Regions from separate parts of the Homo sapiens genome. Here region 2 is linked to region 1. Evidence: promoter capture Hi-C in human tissues and cell types (Jung and others, 2019). All regions are on one chromosome and are shown on one strand. Each heading gives the region's core, a stretch centred on a gene start or on the middle of the fragment in contact. The rest is flanking DNA. Distances are from core to core; before and after follow the strand shown.

Region 1 (4,129 bases), core at 844-3,343:
CACATTCTGCCCAGGCACATGCTACAGCAGCAGTGGGCTGGAACCTGAGAACCAGGAAACTAGGACTCTGGATTATCCTGCCACACCAGTTGGCCACAAGGTCTTCAAGTTCAACCTGCCTCTAATGTGGCGAGAGGGACAGATTGTCCACAGTAGCTCAGCTTGCACCCAGGAGCTCAGCTGGATCTCCATGCCCTGCGGAAGGCAGCGAGCACTGACAGCCAGTGCCTTCTTCAGAACACAGGGCACGATGAAAGAGATACTCTATTTAGTCACACTAGTACTGTGGGTAAGAACATGCCTTTTCACTGTGCACTTATTTGCATAGCGTTGCAAGCAGGCACCAGGATACAGGAATATAATTGTACATGTCAAGTGCATAAAGGAACTCAGGATAAGGGGCCAGTTAGGACAAAGAGTTATGACTTGATACAGATCAATTCAGAAAATGTTTATAGAGTTAACATATGAGCATCTGTAGGTTAGGCACGGTGAGAGAGAAAGAGAGAGGTTGAGTCAGTACTAACAGAGATGTTTCTCCTTGCCACCATGACTTGAAACAGTGCTGTGAGTTGCAGTGTACAGTAGGGGATAAAGGAAACCATCAGTCGTCTGTATTACCCTCAGCTGCTCAGACGTATGTTCCTGCCTTTTTCGTCCTCCTTGAGGAAGGTGGTTTAATCATTTATCGGTGCGTGCCATGGGTGAAGGCCAAGAGCCTTGTGTACAGAACTGAAAACTGTACGTTAGGAGAAATGCCCACCGCCAGGTGTGAACAGTGAGCCCAGGCTCCAAAACCTCTCCCACAGTTCAACACCCTGGACAATATTTTTATAAAATTACTAACTCACAGTACTTTATGGAGGGCTGCTTCTCTGAATTTTTAAAGTTTTCTACAAATGGTCTTGATGTTTTTCCTCTGAGGTGTACTTTTTTTTCCCAAGAATTATGTGGGTTTTGTTTTGCATTGCTTTGATCAAGGTAGAGTTAATGATTTCTCGTAGGTGCTACTAAGCAGTGGATACGAATGCAATCGGCCAGGCACGGTGGCTCACACCTGTAATCCTAGCACTTTGGGAGGCCGAGGCAGGTGGATCATGAGGTCAGAAGATCGAGACCATCCTGGCCAGCATGGTGAAACCCCGTCTCCACTAAAAATACAAAAATTAGCCGGGTGTGGTGTTGGGTGCCTGTAGTCCCAGCTACTCAGGAGGCTGAGGCAGGAGAATCACTTGAGCCCGGGAGGCGGAGGTTGCAGTGAGCCAAGATTGCGCCACTGCACTCCAGGCTGGCAACGAGTGAGAATGTCTCAAAAAAAAAAAAGAAAGAAAAATGCAATCATGGCTGGGCATGGTGGCCGATGCCTGTAATCCCAGCACTTTGGGAGGCTGAGGTGGGAGGATCACTTAAGTCCAGGAGTTTGAGACCAGCCTGGGCAACATACTGAGACCCATCTCTATTTCTTAAAAAAAGAATGCAATCTCTAGGTCAGTTGGATCTGGACCCCAAGCCAGTGGCTCACCATGTGCTCTTGGGCTGGCAGCTTGTTCTTGGAGGCCATTTCCTCCTCTGTCAAATGGAGGTGATGACAGTACCCAGCCCCTAGAGTGGCTGTGAGGGTTCCATGAGTGCCTGTGAAGACTCCCCACTGCCCAGCTCAGAGTGAGCCCTCATACGTGCTGGTCATTGTTGTAATGGTCATGATTTCAGAAGAGAAACAGAGAAGGTTGAGCTAAAGTGTTGAACATGTGTGTTGGGTGCCTACCACAAACAAAGCCCTGTGCATGGTGGCCTCAAGGTGTCTTCATGATAATCCCAAAAGGAAGATAACTGCTTTTTTCCATTTATATGGCGGCAGATGGGTTAAGTAACCTGACCAAGATGAGACTGCATATAATGTGGTTATATTTCTCATAAAGCTTGACTTTCAGATATTGGCTTCAAAGACAAAAAAGGAAGGTAAACATGTTTGAACACAAGGAGTTTCCCTTCCTTTAAGCCACGCCAGCTTATAAGCCTTCATACAGCAGTGAAGGCGGTTCCTCCCTTCCCAGGCAGAGACTGATAAACTCAGCACTTGCCGGAGTGGCTCATTGTTAAGACAAAGGGTGTGCACTTCCTGGCCAGGAAACCTGAGCGGTGAGACTCCCAGCTGCCTACATCAAGGCCCCAGGACATGCAGAACCTTCCTCTAGAACCCGACCCACCACCATGAGGTCCTGCCTGTGGAGATGCAGGCACCTGAGCCAAGGCGTCCAGTGGTCCTTGCTTCTGGCTGTCCTGGTCTTCTTTCTCTTCGCCTTGCCCTCTTTTATTAAGGAGCCTCAAACAAAGCCTTCCAGGTAAGATTCTTGTCCTTTCCACTCCTCATATTTCATTCATTTGAGGAAACAGAAAAATGATAGCCCAGGGAGGACTGGGGAAGTCTGAGCCACCTGTGTGTCCACATGGGAGTGTCAGGGGTCAGGAGTGTTCTCAAGAAGCACTGGGAAGAAAGACTAATGGGAAGACTTGCAGGGAACAGAAAGGGTGGCAGTGGGCAACCAAGACGCATGGGATGGACATGTCCAGATACTGTGGGACACGTACAGGAGTTTGAGAACTGATGGGTTAGGTCTGCAGAGTGCAGACAGAAGACATGACTGCTTTCCCCTCTGGGACTGTGAGTAATGGCAGCAGCACTGGGTTAGTTCTTACATGCCATTCTCTACGTCCTGAAGCGAAAGAGCCATGCTGTGTGTTCCACTTGTTTCAGACCCGGACTCACCCTAAGTTTGTCAGTTAAAATGGAGAGCCTCCCTCTTAGGGATGCAGTTTCAATTGTGGACGCCAAGTTAATCCTTCAAAAATACCTTCTAGACCATTTTTCTTAGAAAATACACACATCTCCAGCAGTGAGAGGCCCTCTTTTTTTTTTTTTTTTTTTTGAGACGGAGTCTCACTCTGCTGCCGGAGTGCTGGAGTGCAGTGGCATGATCTCAGCTCACTGCAACCTCCACCTCCCAGGTTCAAGCCTCAGCTTCCTGAGTAGCTGGGACTACAGGCGCATGCCACCAGGCCTGGCTAAGTTTTTGTATTTTTAGTAGAGACAGGTTTTCACCATGTTGGCCAGGCTGGTCTTGAACTCCCGACCTCAAGTGATCTACCCACCTCGGCCTCCCAAAGCGCTGGGATGACAGGCGTGAGCCACTGCGCCCAGCCAATAATTTCATTTCACTGTTCCTAAACGTTGAAAGTAATGCAGGTTCTCATAGAGTTAAAAAAAATACAGAAAGGTGAAGCAGGAAGTGAGGGTCTCCCTATTATACCTCCACCTCTATCCACTCTTCAAGGTGACCACTCTTGACACTTGAGGGTACACGGAATTCTATTATTATGTAGCTAACACTGCTATAGTATTTACTATGAGCTAGCCCCTATTCTAAGTGCTTGATATACGTTAACTCACTAATTCTCATTATTAGGACACTGAGATACACAGAACTGAAGTGATTCTCCCAAGGTCACCCTGCTAGTATGCGGCAGGGCCAAGATTCAAACCCAGGCATTTTGGTGCCATACCCTGTGCTCATTACCTTTATGCTATACAAGCCCGATAGATAGATGATAGATAGATAGATAGATAGATAGGCAGATAGAGAGAGAGAGAGATAGAGAGATAGGCAGATAGATGGACAGATAGATGGATAGATAGATGGAGATATAGATATCTATATATAGTATGGAGATATATATACAATATATACGCTATATATTGATATACTATATGTCAATATGTAGCATGAGAGATATGTATATATAGATATATTGTATATATAGATATAGATATATACACATATATATCATATAGATTTACATATATATGCACAAGAGAGCTTATATATATATCTCATATATACGTATATATACATATATATGTATCTCATGCTACATATTGTTCCACAGGTTGACCTTGTAAGTCACACTATATCATGGACATCTTTCCATGTCGGGACATACAGGTCCACTCCCTTCTTTCAACAGTTGCTTAGCATTCCACAGGGTAGGTACTGTTTACTTAACCAACCCCTATCAAGTTTCTCACATACCTTTGAGCACTTGCGTAAGTGATTTCCGGGTAGATTTCTTG
Region 2 (3,786 bases), core at 860-3,359, 530 kb after region 1:
CTAAAAGTACAAAAATTAGCCGGGGTGGTGGTGGGCACCTGTAATCCCAGCTACTCAGGAGGCTGAGGGAGGAGAAGCTTGAATGCAGGAGGTGGAGGTTGCAGTGAGCTGAGATCAGGCCACTGCACTCCAGCCTGGGCGACAAGAGCACGACTCCATCTCAAATAATAATAATAATAATAAAATTTAAAAATAGGAGGCCAGGCATGGTGGCTCACGCCTGTAATCCCGCACTTTGGGAGGCCAAGGCGGGCGGATCATGAGGTCAGGAGATCGAGACCATCCTGGCTAACACGGTGAAACCTCATCTCTACTAAAAAATAGAAAAAATTAGCTAGGTGTGGTGGCAGGCACCTGTAGTCCCAACTAGTTGGAGGCTGAGGCAGGAGAATGGCGTGAACCTGGGAGGTGGAGCTTGCAGTGAGCCAAGATTGCACCACTGCACTCCAGCCTGGGCGACAGAGCGAGACTCTGTCTCAAAAAAAAAAAAATTAAAAAATAGTATATAAAGAATTCTGAAAATTTAGTAAGAAAATATGAACATCATTATATAAAATGGACAAAGGGCTGGGCATGGTGGCTCACGCCTATAATCCCAGCAATTTGGGAGGCTGAGGTGAAAGGATCTTTTGAGCCCAGGAGTTCTATACCAGCCTGGGCAACATGGTGAAACCCTGTCTCTATAAAAAAATACAAAAATTAGCCGGGCATGGTGGCACATGCCTGTAGTCCCAGATACTTGGGAGGGTGAGGTGGGAGGATGGCTTAAGCCTGGGAGGCAGAGGTTGCAGTGAGCCAAGATCCCCCACTGCACTCCTGCCTGGGCAACAGAGCTAGACCCTATCTCAAAAACAAGCAAACGAAAAAGGACAAAGTGCATTAAACAGGCAGTTTTAACCTGAGATGTCATTTAAAAAAAAAATTTTTTTTTTTTTGAGACAGAGTCTCACTCTGTCGCCCAGGCTGGAGTGCAGTGGCATGATTTTAGCTCACTGCAACCTCCTACCTCCCGGGTTCAAGCGATTCTCCACCTCAGCCTCCTGAGTAGCTGGGACTACAGGTGCAGGCCACCATGCCCAGCTAATTTTTGTATTTTTAGTAGAGACAGGGTTTCACCATGCTGGCTAGGCTGGTCTCGAACCCCTGACCTCGTGATCCACTTGCCTCAGCTTCCCAAAGTGCTTGGATTACAGGCGTGAGCCACCGCACCTGGCCTAAAAATTTTTTTCTTAGACTTTTTTTTATTTTTTTGAGATAGGGCTTCGCTCTGTCACCCAAGCTGGAGTGCAGTGGCACAGTCATAGCTCACTGCCGCCTCCAACTCCTGGGCTCAAGCCATCCTCCTGCCTCATTCTCCTGAGTAGCTGGGACTACAGGCACATGCTACCATGCCTGGCTAATTTTTTATTTTTTATAGAGATGGGGTCTCGCTATGTTGCCCAGGCTGGTCTCGAACTCCTGGCCTCAAATGATCCTCCCACCTCGGCCTCCCAAAACTCTGAGATTACAGGTGTGAGTTATTGTGCCCAACAGACATGTTTTAGAGCAGCTTCAGGTTTACAGAAAAAAAAATCATGCAGAAAGGATAGAGTTGTCATATATCTCCTCCTGCTCCCTGTCCCTCAGTTTCCACTATTATTAAGAACTAGCAAGGCCGGAAGTGGTGGCTTATGCCTGTAACCCCAGAGCTTTAGGAGGCTGAGGCGAGATGATTAATTGAGCCCAGGAGTTTGTGACCAGCCTGGACAATATAGCAAGACCCCATCTCTACAAAACAATTAAATAATTAGCTGAGTGTGATGGCACACACTCGAGGTTGCAGTGAGCTATGATTGGGCCACTGAACTCCAGCCTGGGTGACAGAGCTGGACCCTGTCTCTAAATAAATAAATAACTTGAATGAGTGTGGTACATTTACTACAACTGATGGACAAATTGATTGATACATTATTATTAACTAAAGCCCATAGTTTACTTTTTATTTCTAAAAATCTTTTTTTAATTTTTGTGGGTACGTAGTAGGTATATATATTTATGGGTTACATGAGATATCTTGATACAGGCATAATCACATCAGGGTAAATGGAGTGTCCATCACCTCAAGCACTTATCCTTTCTTTGTGTTACAAACAATCCAATTATACTCTTTTTTTCTTTTCTTTTCTTTTTTTTTTTTTTTTTGAGACAGCATCTCTCTCTGTTGCCCAGGCTGGAGTGCAGTGGTGCCATCTCAGATGCTCACTGCGACCTCCGCCTCCCAGGTTCAAGCGATTCTCCTGCCTCAGCCTCCCGAGTAGCTGGGACTACAGGCGCCTGCCACCATGTCTGGCTAATTTTTGTATTTTTTAGTAGAGACATGGTTTTGCCATGTTGGCCAGGCTGGTCTCGAACTCCTAGCCTCAAGTGATCCGCCTGCCTCAGCCTTTCAAAGTGCTGGGATTACAGGCGTAAGCCACTGCACCCGGCCCAATTATACTCTTTCAGTTATTTTTATTTATTTTATTTTTTGATATGGAGTCTCGCTGTGTCACCCATGCTGGAGTGCAGTGGAATGATCTCGGCTCACTGAAACCTCCGCCTCCTGGGTTCAAGCAATTCTCCTGCCTCAGCCTCCCGAGTAGCTGGGATTACAGGTGCCCGCCACCACGCCTGGCTAATTTTTGTATTTTTAGTAGAGACAGGGTTTCACCATGTTGGCCACGCTGGTCTCGAACTCCTGACTTCAGGTGATCTACCCGCCTCGGCCTCCCAAAGTGTTGGGATTACAGGTGTGAGCCACCATGCCCGGCCCATAGTTTTTTTTTTTTTTTTGAGACGGAGTCTCACTCTTCGCCCAGGCTGGAGTGCAGTGGCGCGATCTTGGCTCACTGCAAGCTCCACCTCCCGGGTTCATGCCATTCTCCTGCCTCAGCCTCCCGAGTAGCTGGGACTACAGGCGCCCCGCCACCATGCCTGGCTAATTTTTTGTGTTTTTAGTGGAGATGGGGTTTCACCGTGTTAGCCAGGCTGGTCTCGATCTCCTGACCTCATGATCCGCCCGCCTCAGCCTCTCAAAGTGCTGGGATTATAGGCGTGAGCCACTGCGCCCGGCCGCCCATAGTTATTTTTAATGTACAATAAATTATTATTGACTGTAATCACCCTATTGTGCTATCAAATACTAGGTCTTATTCATTCTAGCTAATTATATTTTTGTGCACATTAACCAGCCCCCCTTCTCCCTCTTTCCCCACCATTACTTTTCCCAGCCTCTGCTCTCTATCTCCATGAGTTCCATTCTTTTAAGTTTTAGCTCCCACAAATAAGTGAGAACACATGAAGTTTTTCTTTCTGTGCCTGGCTTATTTCACGTAACACAATGACCTCCTGCTCCATCCAAGTTATTGCAAATGACAGGGTCTCATTCTTTTTTATGGGTGACTAGTACTCCCAGGTGTATATGAACCACATTTTCTTTATCCATTTGTTTGTTGATGGACACTTAGTGTATTAGTCCATTTCATACCACTGTGAAGAAATACCCAAGACTGGGTAATTTATAAAGAAAAAGAGGTTTAATGGACTCAGTTTCACGTGGCTGGGGAGGCCTCACAATCATGGAAGAAGGCGAAGGAGGAGAAAAGGCACATCTTACATGGTGGCAGGCAAGGAAAGTGTGTACAGGGGAACTGCCCTTTGTGAAACCATCAGATCTCATGAGACTTACTCACTATCACGAGAAGAGCACAGGAAAAACCTACCCCTAAAATAATTAGCCAGGCATGGAGGTGGGCACCTGCAATCCCA

The links. The method cuts DNA at HindIII sites, captures the fragments that hold promoters and counts their contacts. A contact is called where the count stands out against the background at its distance.
Region 2: a fragment that was not itself captured here is called in contact with the fragment with the promoter of ST6GALNAC1 in region 1 in 2 of the 25 tissues and cell types used here (dorsolateral prefrontal cortex and stomach).

What each region holds. Positions count from the first base shown.
Region 1 is chr17:76,641,721-76,645,849 of GRCh38, reverse strand. It overlaps ST6GALNAC1 (ST6 N-acetylgalactosaminide alpha-2,6-sialyltransferase 1), which reads left to right and starts at 2,093. Exons shown (of 9, transcript NM_018414.5): 1 at 2,093-2,342. The coding sequence starts at 2,212. The HindIII fragment of the contact is 5,915 bases long and covers 723-4,129 here.
Region 2 is chr17:76,113,267-76,117,052 of GRCh38, reverse strand. No RefSeq gene overlaps it. Among named protein-coding and RNA genes, the nearest start is that of EXOC7, 11 kb to the right of the region's middle. The HindIII fragment of the contact is 8,353 bases long and covers 1-3,786 here.